Regions from separate parts of the Homo sapiens genome. Here regions 1, 2 and 3 are each linked to region 4. Evidence: promoter capture Hi-C in 16 types of primary human blood cells and fetal thymus (Javierre and others, 2016). All regions are on one chromosome and are shown on one strand. Each heading gives the region's core, a stretch centred on a gene start or on the middle of the fragment in contact. The rest is flanking DNA. Distances are from core to core; before and after follow the strand shown.

What was found. Contacts are between HindIII fragments. The CHiCAGO score rates a contact against its expected background, and 5 or more counts as called.
Region 1: a contact is called between a fragment that was not itself captured here and the fragment with the promoter of LACTB2 in region 4, in 3 of 17 cell types (M1 macrophages, M2 macrophages and M0 macrophages). The highest score is 5.4, in M1 macrophages.
Region 2: a contact is called between a fragment that was not itself captured here and the fragment with the promoter of LACTB2 in region 4, in 1 of 17 cell types (naive B cells). The highest score is 5.3, in naive B cells.
Region 3: a fragment that was not itself captured here is called in contact with the fragment with the promoter of LACTB2 in region 4 in 1 of 17 cell types (M2 macrophages); the score reaches 6.4 in M2 macrophages.

What each region holds. Positions count from the first base shown.
Region 1 is chr8:71,827,947-71,831,185 of GRCh38, forward strand. No RefSeq gene overlaps it. Among named protein-coding and RNA genes, the nearest start is that of MSC-AS1, 14 kb to the right of the region's middle. RefSeq lists an enhancer at 2,595-3,239. The HindIII fragment of the contact is 1,641 bases long and covers 1,063-2,703 here.
Region 2 is chr8:69,651,535-69,655,056 of GRCh38, forward strand. All of the region lies in intron 22 of SULF1 (sulfatase 1), which reads left to right. Among named protein-coding and RNA genes, the nearest start is that of SULF1, 160 kb to the left of the region's middle. The HindIII fragment of the contact is 942 bases long and covers 1,026-1,967 here.
Region 3 is chr8:71,966,077-71,969,283 of GRCh38, forward strand. The region is part of intron 4 of MSC-AS1 (MSC antisense RNA 1); the gene reads left to right. Among named protein-coding and RNA genes, the nearest start is that of TRPA1, 110 kb to the right of the region's middle. The HindIII fragment of the contact is 5,269 bases long and covers 1-3,207 here.
Region 4 is chr8:70,667,569-70,671,252 of GRCh38, forward strand. It overlaps LACTB2 (lactamase beta 2), which reads right to left and starts at 1,617. Exons shown (of 7, transcript NM_016027.3): 1 at 1,431-1,617. The coding sequence starts at 1,552. It overlaps XKR9 (XK related 9), which reads left to right and starts at 1,771. Exons shown (of 5, transcript NM_001011720.2): 1 at 1,771-1,970. The HindIII fragment of the contact is 8,354 bases long and covers 1-3,684 here.

The DNA.
Region 1 (3,239 bases), core at 633-3,132, 1.2 Mb after region 4:
CCATAATAGTGCCACTGTACTCCAGCCTGGGCAACATAGGCTTAACCCTGTCTTAACAAAAAAAAAAAAAAAAAAAAAAAAAAAAAAAAAAAAAAAATCTGCAGCCTGAGGGTTTGCTGCAACTTATATATTTACCACGAGATGGCGCGCTAATGACGTCTTTTTATTACTGGGACCGGCTGCGTGGCGCTCAATTATTTTTCCTATTGAATCCTGTGGAAAGTGCTGGAGCTGCAGAGAGGTCCCCAAACAGCAGAAACAATGAGCGTGTAAGTACTTAATATAGTGGGGAAATACCCATTGACATATATTTACCGCCCTTGAATTTGGGTTTCAAAGGACTCATTTTTTTGAACTTGGTTACATCATGAAATTCACCTAACATAAAAATTAGCTCTTAAACACAGCTGATGTCAATGGGTAACTTTTCCCGGGGAAGCAGATGCTGCCCGGGTTGTGTGCAGAGCGCCATCCTGGAGGAGCCGGGCTGCAGGGAGCTCCTTGAGGAGCCACATCCAGACCTCTAGCACTGAGTTATCTTTGCCTCCGCTTACCTTCTTGTATCTGCAACAAACCTTTTTAACGTATTCACTCTTGCTTTTCTCAGTTTTTGATAATCAGCCACCTTGCTGTAGTAAAGGATCACACTGTGGAATGCTAAAAAAAAATTGCCATTTTAAAGTAGACAATTTACTGGCATTTAGCATATTCCCAATGTCACGAAATCACCATTTCTATAAGTTTCAAAATATTGTCACCATTCCAAACTAAAACCCCTTAGCTATTAAACAGTTTCTATGTTCCCTCCTTGAACTGGCAACAACTAATCTGTTTTTGTCCCAAAGGATTGATCTATTCTGAATATTTTATATAAATGGAATCATACAATGTGTGACCTTGTGTGTCTACCTGCTTTCACTTAGCATAATATTTTCAAGGTTCATCCATGTTGTAGCACGTGTCAGTGTTTCCTTCCTTTTTATGGTGAGAACTTCCAGTGCAGTGTTGAATAGTCATGGTGAAAACAGGCATCCTTGTCTTGTTCCTGACCTTATGGGGGAAAGCTTTCAGTCTTTCATATTGGGTTTGATGTTAGCATAAAGGCGTCTTATGGTGCTGGGGAAGTTGCCTTCTCCTGGTTTTCTGTTTTGTTTTGTTTTGTTTTTTATCGTGAAAGAGTGTGGGATTTTGTTAAATGCTTTTCTATGTCGATGAAGATGATTGTGTGAGTTTTCCCCTTCATTCTATAATGTGTATTACATTGACTGATTTTCTTATGCCACACCATTCTTGCATTTTGGGGCATATAGTACTTTTAATAACTTTTCTTTAAAAATGAAGATGTGTGTAAAGTATTGCACAAATATAGATGAGGTAGAATTAATTCTGCAGGTTAAGGCAGAGGGAGTGGGAAGGGTTTAGGGGAGGAAGACAAAGAGAAGTCAGCCAGTAAAAGACAGACCAGAAATGACCTTAAATGACAAGGGGATTTTTTTTTAAAAAGCCAAACTTTCAAGCAGCATCTTTCTCTAATCCAAGACAGATGAGAAGCCAGTTTCCAAAAATCCAGTTTCATTTTCCTTATCTTTAAAATGATTAGATTATTTTGATTTTTATTGTCATTGCTATAATTATAGTTTCTTATCCTGTTTATTTCATAAAATTTTCCTAGGTATTGCATAATTTGGGGCCATAATTTTACATTGTTGCACAACAGTCCCGGTTAGGTAATTACAGTAACCATATAGTCTTTGTTTTTTATTATCTTTAGAATGCCATGATAAACCAAAGTAGATTACTTATGAGATACCTTCTAGCTCTAAAGTTTTGTGGCTTTATGATTCTACGAAATCTGTACCACAGATTCTTCCCTAACTGCGCAAATTCTACATCACAAATCCTAGACGGTTAGAAAACCTCTCTCTGGCAATTTCATTAAATCTACTGTACTTCTTATATGTTTCAATTCACACATGTTTTCTCTTTTTCTGTCTTTGGTGAAGATGGAAAAAAGTGGATCACTTGTTGTTGGTGGGAAATTGTTTGTTCCTATAACTCACTTAAGCAAGTATCTATTAAGGTCAAACAAAAATGATCAGCTCTTCTAGGCAGACTGGGGCTTCTCCTCGGTCATGGCATTTCTTGGCTCCCCTACCTCAGTTTCTCCCAGGAGCAGTTCTTTGTTCATCTTCAGATTGGCCACTCCCTGCCTCCACTGCTGGGCTCTCCAGGAGTATGTAATTTTGTGAGCTAAAAATCCTAAGTGAGAATAGATCTATTTTCTTTTTAGTTCAGCACATATAAATTGGGTGTTTTTCAAATCATCTTCATTATAAAATAAAGAGGAAAGCAAACCCAAAAAGAAACAAATATGTTTATAGACAAGTGCCACTCCCTGGGTTGCATTGGTGGGCACCGCCAAGGAAGCAGACAGCCTTGACTCCTTTCTGCGCTTTCGTCCCGTGTCAAGCCCTCGGAAGGAGGTATAGCTCTATGGCTCATCCGTTGTTCCGAGTTAACTCCTAAAGTTCAGTTAGTCTCATCGGTGGGCACCATCTTCCCACCAGCTTCCTTTCACCCCAGCAGACAACTTTTGGGGAGGCTCAGGGAATGGTTTTGGGTTCAGATTCTTAGCTAGAGAGAAATAGATTTAAACTCTGATTCCACCAGTTATTCCCTGTGTGGCCCTTGGAAGGTTATTGAAGCTTTGAGAGCCTGTTTTCCCACCCATAAATCAAGACTATCACAGGCCTATTCATGGGCCTGATCAGAGGCATTAAAGGGCTGATATCTGTAAAGCGTATAGCATGGTGCTTAGCGTGTTTACAGTATGAATTTGCCTCTTCCAATTTTAAAGCTTTACATTTTAAAGTACTTTACTGAACTCAGTCAATACTCTTCTTTTTCTGTCTGAGGGCTCCCTAGCACCATCAGATTATGTACAGCAGAAATAGTAGTGTCAAATGGTAGTGACTAATTAGACATACTTTCTTAGTTGTCTGTGATGACTACATATCTCGGGTGGTTCCAGGGTATGGACTTTCCCAAATCAAATCACCCTCGTTTTACAAGTGAGAAGGAATTTAAACTAAAGAGTAGCAATAACTATTTTCTATCAAGAGAAATTTATTAAATATTTATTGATCATCTGCTTTGTACCAGACAGATGGAGGTTGTAATTTCATAAGACACAAAATGAAAAATGATGATTCCTGCTCTGAAGATATTTAGAATCCAAT
Region 2 (3,522 bases), core at 247-2,746, 1.0 Mb before region 4:
CATCAGTTCTTTTTTTTAGTGCTTTTATCTTTAATGAACGTTGAATTTGTCAAAAAGCTTTTTTTAGCATCTATGAAGATGCTCAGATAATTATTCTCTTTAGATCTATTAAATTATTATTGTGTATTATATTAATAGATTTGGTAAGAATGAATCCTTTCATTCCTGAAATAAATTCCACTGGGTCATTGTGTGTTGCTTTCGTAATATTGAATTCTGTTCACTAATATTTTATTTAAGATTTTTGTATCATATTTTTAAATGATACCAATCTGTGATTTCCTTTTTGTTTTTACCAGCATTATCTCTTAGATATATTAGTTTCTTATTACTGCTGTAATAAATTACCACTGTGCCTTTAAAACAACACAAATTTATTCTCTTGTGTTTCTAGGGGTCAGAAATTCGAAATGAATCTTACTGGGCTGAAATCTTCTGGGGGCTCGAGGCAAGAATGTCCTTGCTTTTCCAGTTTCTAGAGGCTGCCTGCATTCCTCATTCATGGTCTCTTCTGCCATCTTCAAATACAAAAATGTAGCCAATCTTCAAATCAGTCTCTCCCCCAACCCCCACCTTCCTCTGTTTTCTGGGGTCACATCTCGTTCTCTACCCCTCCTTCCTACCACCTCCCTTTCCCTTTATAAGGACTCTTGAGATCCCACTGGCCCCACCTGGATGCTCCAGGATACTCCCCCACCCCAATCTCAGGATCCATGACTTAGTCACATTTGCAGAGTCCCTTTGGCCAGGTAAAGGAACTTGTCCATAGTTTCCAGGAATTTGGATGTGGACATCTTTGCCGGGTGGAGTCCACTATTCTGCCTATCACAGCTATCAATGTTATCCTTGCTTCGTGAAAAGAGTTTGGAAGTTTTCTTGAGTTATCTGCTCTAGAACAGTCTATTAGTATTCTCTTTTCATTGAAGATTTGTTAAACTTCTCCTGTGAAAGTCCACAGACCTGATGCATCTTTGCACAGTGGTTCTTTGGGCTTGCTTTTTCTTCTATGGAAACTGTTCTATTTAAGCTTTCTATCTATATTGGGTTGTTAAATCAAGTTTAGCCTAAATCTGCCTCCTCACATATTTTAAGTTCAGCCTAAAGGTTTCTCTGTATATCGTGAACTATAACCTAAATAGAGTTGTATACAGACTGTAGCCTACTCTTGTGCCCATCACTGAGTTTTGGCCCTTCAAAGGTGGCCAACTGCTCAAACTCTGTTCAAATAAGGCAAACACTGAGCTGTAACCAATCTGGCTGCTTCTGTACTTCACTTTTGTTTTCTGTCCGTCGCTTTTCTTTTTCTGTCCATACATCTTCTTCCACCACGCAGCTGCGTTGGAGTCTCTCAGTCTACTCTGGCTTGGGAGGCTGCCAGATTTGCAAATCGTTCTTTGCTCAATTAAACTCTGTTAAACTTAATTCAGCTGAGGTTTTTCTTTTAACAGCATCAATTTCGGCAAACTATTTTCCTGAGCAACTACGTTTCATCCAGGTTTTCAAATTTGTTCTCACTGAGGTCTGCAAAGTAGTCTCTTGTTTTTATTTTTTTTTTAAGATGGGGTTTCCGTCTGTCACCCAGGCTGGAGTATAGTAGCAATCATGGCTCACTGCAGCCTCAGCCTCCTGGGTTCCAGTGATCCTCCCACCTCAGCCTTCTGAGTAGCTGGGATTACAGGCGTGTGCCACCACACTCAGCTAATTTTTAAATTTTTATTAGAGGTGAGTTCTTGCTATGGTGCCCAGGCTACTGTTAAACTCCTGGGCTCACGCAATCCTCCCATCTCAGCCTCCCAGAGTGCTGGGATTACAGGCATGAGCCACATCTCTTGTGTTTTTAATTTTGTGTATTTCAACGATTTTTAAAATATTTACCAGTTTATTATAAAGGATATTATAAGAAATGCAAATAAATAGCCAGACAAAGAGGTACATAGGCTAAGGTCCAGATGGGTCCCAAACGCAGAAGCTTCTGTCCTTGAGTTCGAAGTGTGCTACCTTCACGGCATGTGGTTGCATTCACCAGCTGGAAATTTCTCTGAACCCTGTTATCGTTTAAGATTTTTAATGAGGTTCCATTACATAAGCATGATTGATTGCATCATTGGCCATTGGTAGTTAACTCAATCTCCAGGCCCCTGTCCACTCCACAGAGGTCTGAGAGTCCCAACTCTCTAATCATGTGGAGGTCTTTCTGATGATCAGCCCAGCTCCCAACCTAGAGCTGTCTAGGGTACCCTAGCCATCTCCTCAGCATATAAAAGACACTCTTATCTCCCTGGAGATTGCAAGGGCGTTAGGATCTCTGTGAACTGGGGGTAGACCAAATACATTTTTCTTATTATGCCCTAGTCCCCTGGCCATGAACCCCGTAGTGAGAAGATTATAAAAGTCAAAAGATATTGGCACATTCCTAGAATTGCATTCAGCCATCAATAATTAGTCCAGTCCATCATTCTGTCATATGAAAATACCTCCTAGGGCAAGGCCACTCAGGTTTGCCAGCTTCTGTTGGATCTTGCCAGGAGTGGCTTAGCAATATATGACCTCACCCTTTTAGGAGTCTGGTATAATGGAGCTAAGAGACAATGTCATCTCCTGTTCTGAGCCTTTTTCAAGCTGTTAATGTAATATTGGATTTCTCTCATGACTCATGACGTAACCCACTTATTCATTCCTTCAGCCTCAGTTACTATTCCTCCATCTCTCCATTTATGACCAAAGTTTTCCACCTTCGGAAGAGACATTAGATTCAGCCACTGTGCTGCTCTAGGCTTCAGGCAGCAATACTAGTCTAGTATTATCACTAGACTACCAATAATAGGCTAGCAAGTACCTCTTGCTCAGTCTGCTCCCATTCAAATAGAGTAAGTTTATATAGGTGCAGAACTAATGAACTGTTTTTAACCACCAGGCAGTATACCTGCATTCACTGTTAACCCCAGTTTTGCCAGATGGGGTGAAGGCACAACCTGCCCTATCAGGCCCTTAGGAATTCTGACATCGTTTTAAAGTATAATTAGGGTTTTTTGCTTAGGAAACATCCCTGCTTCCAACACCAGCAGTTGCATCTCTGCATCACGTATAAAAAAGAAAGTTGAAGTGCTGTGCAGAAGACTTGCATCATCACACCGGCATCCTCTCCTGCCCCCTCTCCTCTTATCCTCCTGCAAAGCAGAGAAATCTGTCCAGTGGGGGACACTCCCTTAGCCCCCTTATGTTGAGTGTGAAGGTATGTAAGCCAGCCTTCAATGCTTTTGTCTCCCCACATTTTAGACAGCAAATGTTTTAACTGCCCATTCCTTCCTGTTCTTATGGAACTGTTACTCTAAGGATAATGTGCACCATTATACGTCCATTTGATGTGAGCTATCTTTGCTCACTTTTGGACATTATGGGCTATAAAATGTGTCCTTTCATCTGAAGAAATGTAACTTGGTGGTCCAAATTAGTACAGTATTTTCCGTTCCTATCCTGTAATAATATTTTAAGCATTTGCATTGCATTTAAGTAGATGCAATG
Region 3 (3,207 bases), core at 413-2,912, 1.3 Mb after region 4:
TTTTTAGTTCAGCAGAAGTGGTCTGACCTCAGCGCACTTAGGGCATTGTTTACACGCTTCAGAGGGCTAAGGAGGAGATTTAATCCCGAACGTATTCCGCTGGAGAAACCAGATAAGTCTACCTGAGCCCCAGCAGGGTATATATACTCCGCTACCATCAAGCCTCCACCTGAAAATGTCTCCATTTAACATGGCAGTGCTGTCAATTAAGAGCCAATTTGACTTAACAAATTCAAAGAACCTACTAGTAAGTTTATACTCACAAGTTCCAATGTACTATTTGTAACTCCTCCCTGGTCTGTTCCATGCAAGAAAGCCTCTCAAAGTCCTTCACTTTTCATTCTACTGCTTTGCTTCTACTACTAATACATACAAAGGCCAAAGAAGCTGCCTCTCTAGAATTCCTCTTCCATTATAGAATCTTAGAAGTTGTGACTGTCCATTTGTGCCAGGGATCTATCTGTATCTGTGGCTAATCCAAAAACCTCAGTCCTATACTTTAATACAACATTAGAGCTGAACAATAAGGATGTCAAGTATTATAATCTAATTTCAGAACTATGATGCTACAGAAATAGTTAATTATAGAAATACTTAGAACATACTAGAAATAAATAGGACATTCTTGAAATACACATCAAAAGTCATATTACTCTTTCTTTTAGACTTATAGATGGGGTCACACACCATTCTACAAAGAGGGGAGTCTCTCCGTGAAATGACTTGAACTTATAAAGCGCATTCTGCTATGTGGTTGCCTCACCAACTCCCTTCCTGCCTGGACTATTACAGTAACCTGTGGATTGGTCTCCTTGCCTTGAGACGATGACATTTCTGGCACCTAAACCCATCAGCATCAAGTTGTTCTTTTGAAAACATAAATATGACCATGTTACATGTTTTTAAACCTTTCAATGGAATACTTTCACCTACAGGATAATGTTTAGATTTTTTAACATGGCATGCATGACGCTTCACTCTCTGGCTTCCACACATTCTCCAGAATTACTTCCTGTCACTCTCCTATGTCTATTCTTGTCTCCAACAATTCCCAACCTCTTGTGCTGTGGTCCATGGCTCTCCATGCCTCATGCCTGTGCTGTCCTGGAGCACTTCCTTCAACTGATACACAAAAAAAGTCTTGCTTATTCTTCCCTGATCTACCTGGGTTTCACCTTCACCTGTATGCAGAGTTAATGCCTTCCCGCTGTCTGTTCCCATATCAGGCTGTGTACTATTGAAATATTCATCACTCCCTTCAGGCTGTGGCTTAATGTGCCCATCTCCTTATCAGCCTTGGCAATTTAAGGACAGAGGTTTTGTTTTGTTTTTTGTTTTTTAATCTCTCTCATTTTTGTGTGTTCTCAGGAGCAGGAGAGAAGGGATGTTAATATGTTGAATTAATGTTAATCATTAAAACCATCACAACCCCAAATTTCTTTAATCCCTACTTAATCCAAATTGATTGAATTTGTACAATTTTCATGAATGTTGAATAATCTTGAGGTGAAATAATCTTATTTCACAAAATAAAAATTTGTTGAAATATCATTCAACAAAGATATTATTCTAAATATTCAAAACCGAAAGAAAGCATAGGTCATAGAGCTATTTGGTGGTCAGTTCAGAGGAAACTTTGACAGGATGATGCCAACAATGGGAAAAAAAAAGCCCCAATAACCATCCTGTCTTATAACCTACAAATAATGTTACATACAATTTTAAATTCAAATATATTTGTTAGCATGTTTGAAATCTATTTTTGTTTGTTTGTTTTCCTGGGCTCCTCAGATAGTGAATTGGACTTAGGAACAGATTTTGAAGAATAAACTAGAATCAGTCAAGTGGATGGAGGGTAAATGTCCTCTAGGGGGATAACTCACCAGAAAAAGAGGCTGAAGAGTAGGCAGCAAGGGAAGAGCTGGTGGCTCCTCATCTGTAGCACAGGGTGTTGTGAAAGTAGGAGAGAGAAGGCTGGCACGGGGTGGGGGCGGGTGCAGAGCAGGTCATGTAGGGTCATACAAACCTCACTAAATTCCAAAGACCACAGGAAGTCTCAGAAGCATTTTTCCAGGGGAGGGATGCTATCAGATTTGCAAAAAAGTAGACTTGAAAATCATTCTCAAGGTAGCACAGGTGCTGGAAGAATAATGAAAATTACTGACCTTCAAAAAGTCCTTATTCTGTGCCTGGTATTATTCCGGGCATATTACATATGTTACTGCTTTTCATTTTCACAGCAAACTAAGAGGTGAATACTAGCATGTCTTCTTTTACTAAGCTACATGCACACTAAGTAGCAACACTGAGATCCAAATCAAGGTAATCAGGCAGGAGAGTCCGTGCAATTACCCTTGCTATAGTGCCTCCCCAAAGGCAGGAGGAATTGGAGTCCGGAGGTGGATAGCTTAGTTAAAAAACAAAAGCAACAGTAGAAGGAAGAAATAATAACCTAGGGTAGTGATGAAGCAAAAAGAGAGATACAAATGTAAGAGATATTTAGAAAGTAAAATTAATTAGGTTTGATAACCCCTTAAAAATCAGGTAGAGGGTGATGTTCAATGTCTGCCTCAGACAGGTGGAGGTGCTATTTGCAAGAATAAAGAACAGAAGCAGCATCAGGTGGAGAGGGAGCTTTTGGCAATGTTTGGGATTCAATATGTGAAGCTAGTATTATAAAACAGTGTAGCAAAGTGATATATTAGGAGTTATAAATGCACAGAGGAGGAAGTGACTCATTCTGATTAAAGAAGACTCAGATAAGTTATCTGAACTTTGAAAGATGTGTAGATTTTCCCCAGTTGCAAAATGAAAGAAAGGGTATTACAGGCATATGGAATAAAATGTGCAAGTTAAGGCATCGTAGGAAAGCAGGGTAAATCCCAAGGTACCGTGAGAATCCGGGCCGGCTGCAGAGTGCATGGCAGAGAATGGGAGCTGATGCTGAAGGAAAGCAGGAGTGAAACTGGGGAAAGTTTCCACATGCTTAGGAGCTGTTCCTCTCTGCCCAGGAGCAAAATATACTCTCACAAGTCCCAGGGTCGGTCAGTGCTTGTGTGTAGTTGTACCTTTGGAAGGTTATGCCCAAGGTGACATGTGAAAGCTGCTGGCCAGGTTTAGGGAATCACAAAGAAATTGAAGGCTGAAGTTCACAGGCTGGCCAGCCCCAGAGGAAATTCTATTTTCACATGAGGATTCTGCTTTGCT
Region 4 (3,684 bases), core at 367-2,866:
ACTATAAATCTGCTTTTCCCTCAGTTAGTCTTTAAGTCTCTCTTAGCACTAGCACTTTGCTATGTTGAGTGTGATTATAGTGTTTAAAGATACAGTATGTATTTTTCATACAATATAGCCCCTCAACACAAGCCAATTTCTTCACCTGGTTTTCAAACAGAATCAGCCATCTGTTTCAACGCTGGAAAAAAGGCAGGTTGTGCTGAACTTACTGAGACAATACACTGATCTCCAACATGGTGTTCTTCTAAGAGACTTTCCAGGGTAATTCTGATAATATGCATCTTTTGTCTGAGGTATTGACTAGTTCAAGATGACACACTGTAGAGAGACCGCCTATGGATTTACTTGGTTGAGGGACTTCCAGCCAAGACAGACTGTACCCTAGAGATCTGGCATTTTTCCTGCTTAATTCTCTATCCTCCTAGATTCTGGTGGCAGCCTAAACCTTTGGTAACTACCTGACCCTGCCTTATTTACTCTGAACTTAATCTTTTACCTGCCCACTTTGCAGGTCTGCTGCTTCTAAAATTCTTATTTACTGGAAAAACGCCAAACAGTAGACACTTCCAAGGAAAACTCAATTAACTGTACTTACTAAATCGTTTTTAGTAATCAATTATATTTTAAAAATAATTTATGTCTTGACTGCACAATTAAATTCTATGCTCAAGAGAAACTACATTATCTGGGTTCATCCAGTAAAGACTACAAAAGTTGCTAAATGCCTAAGACTTACTATGCAGTAAACCAAATCTCCCATTCCTGCATAATTCCACTAAAACAGAATGCAGCTAAACAAGAGCAAAAGTATCTTCTTAGAAATACAGGTGTGTTACTGTGTCTGCAAATTAAACTCAAACAAGGTCACACACAATTGTAACAAAAAACTTCCCCAAATTACTTATGTCAGCTCCTCTTATGAGCCCACAGGCTGCAGAGAACCAATTTGGAAGCCAGGAGAATCCTGCCCTCTGCTGCTGAGTTGAGGAAATCGCCTCAACATAATTAATCGCTTTTGAGAAGGGAAGTTACACTCTGGGCAAAACACCAGTGAAAGTCAAGTGAGCAAAGTAAACGCTTTCTTGGACTCTTGACATCCGAATTTTCTCAACAGTTTAAACACGCACACCCTGGCATTCAAACATCAAGAACAGTAAATCGGGTTTCAAAACAGAAGTTTTTTTTTTTTTTTTTTTTTTTTTTTCCATTTCTCCCTAAATTAGAGAGCTATCACCTGGGGTGGTCGTATTTTAGCTAGCTTCGAGATCCGAGTGTCTGCGTGCAGTCCCGACGGGGCTGCTAGGCGCGGGGCTGCCCAGCTAGGGACAGGACGCGGCGCTCTCCACTGCCCGCGCAGCCGCGATCAGTCAAAGCCCGGGCTCCGGGGCCGGCTGCGAACGTTGGGGAGGTTGGAGAGGGACGTTTACCTGGGGCCGGTCCCCACTAGGTAGGTGTTGGTGCCTTGGAGGGTCATGGGACCCGGGTTACAGCCCAACACACGCACGACTCGATTGGACAGCCGCTCGACGCGCTGCAGTACAGCAGCCATTCCCGCCTCAGCCGCCCGCCGGCGTGTCGCCTATCTGGATACTCCAGCGCGGAAGAAGCCAACAGGCCGGGGATAGCGAGTAGCGTCCACGTGATGCCTCGCAACCCGGGAGGGAGGGGATTGGCCAGCGGCTGGTCCAGGTGTCATGTGACACCGCGGACGAGCCGGGGCGGGGATCCGGCAGCTAGGCCGGGGGGTGGGGGGGGCGGTGCGGAACTAGAGGTCACGTGACGCCGCGCGGGCTGCGCGGGCAGTGGTGGGAAGGCTGGCGCGAGGCGTGAGGTGGCGTGAGGCGAAGCTGGAATCTGCCTCTGTCACGGGGGCTGGTGCCTCACGGGTTTGTGTCCTAGACAGGCGAGTGGATCCAAGTGGGCGAGAGACATTTTAATCTGGAAGAGTCTTGTGATTTGGGAGACAGGTTTGGTAACCGTTCGTTATTCAGTAATAAATGTCAGGAAGGATTGCCAGATTTTTAGGCAGTGGCTCTGTGTGTGTGTGTGTGTGTGTGTGTGTGTGTGTAGTAGTAGTAGTAGTAGCCTGTTCATTTTTTTTTTTTTTTTTTTTGAGACGAAGTCTCGGTCTGTCGCCCAGGCTGGAGTGCAGTGGCGCGATCTCGGCTCACTGCAAGCCCCGCCTCCCGGGTTCACGCCATCCTCCTGCCTCGGCCTCCCGAGTAGCTGGGACTATAGGCGTCCGCCACCACGCCCGGCTAATTTTTTGTATTTTTAGTAGAGACCGGGTTTCATTGTGTTAGCCAGGAAGGTCTTGATCTCCTGACCTCGTGATCCGCCCGCCTCGGCCTCCCAAAGTGCTGGGATTACAGGCGTGAGCTACCACGCCGGGCCAGCCTGTTCATCTTTTATAATAAATAGTGGTAAGACATATTTACTTAGTACTTCCTACTATGCCTAAGTGCTTTCAACAAACATCCGACTTAACGCCCTTAATCCTCAGAACATTATTAAGAGGTGGACACTATTTTTGTTACAAATGAAAAACGGGGATTGGGCAGCTGCCCAGATGACAGAGTCTGCGTGTGCGGCCTTGCTCCTACCTGCCTCGCACTAACACTTGTCCCCCTCAGTGAGATTCAAGGAGCATGCCTCTGCCTGCCAGTGTTACCTGCCTGCCCAGAGAGCTAGGCTGGTCTTGTGGAGCCGTTTTGTGCCCAAGATGGAAGGGACTCATTTTCTCTGTAACAAGTCGGTTTCTTATCAGCCAAGTATTAACTATCCAGTGTTAACTACAGCTTCCCATAAAAAAAGTTGAGTTATAAATTACTTAAAAGAAAATACACAGATCCTGTAGACAGTTCCATCGAGTTATGACAATTGTATGTAATCACTGCCCCAAAGAGATGTAGAACATATCCACTGTAGCAGCCCACTCTTTTTTTTTTTAAAAAAAGGTGAGAAATTGACACATACAGTGCTTGGTGGCTTTTTTTTTTCCAGATATTTCTGATGAAGAAAACGATCTGCTCTTACCTATTTTATGAATCAGCAGCATAGTGTATCAGAGTGGCTAATGACATCTGCTTTGTGTGTGAGAAATGTCTTTGCCTTGTTTCACACAGTTGTACTTTTAATGGAAAAATATTCAAAAAATCATCGCTGAAATAATCATATAAGTTATCCCCTGTTGCAATGGGAAGTTAAACAGTATACCCTTCAAAAAATACTTAAAGTAACCAAATCTCCTACATCAGGCATTTCAATCTGTCAATATGTATTTATGATAGCCATCAATTAATGGCTATTCAGGCAGGAGGCTTTGCACATCTTCCCTTTTTAAGAACTCTGCTGGAAAGTCAGTGAACCCTGGAGAAGAGGATGGAACAGTAATTTCTGGACCAGATTCCTGAGAATCTGGGCACTCCCCTTCTTTTATTCTTTGGCTTAATTAATTTCCTTACTTAACTTACTTATTTACTTACAGGGTCTGGCTTTCACCCGGGCTGCAGTGCAGTGGCACTATCATAGCTCACTGTAACCTTGAACTCTTGAACTCAAGCGATTCAGGTGATCCTCCTGCTTTGGTCTCCCAAAGTGCTAGGATTGCAGGCTTGAGCCACCATGCCTGGCTGAGATAAACTTTTTAGCTCCCACGTATGAATGAGAATATGTGATATT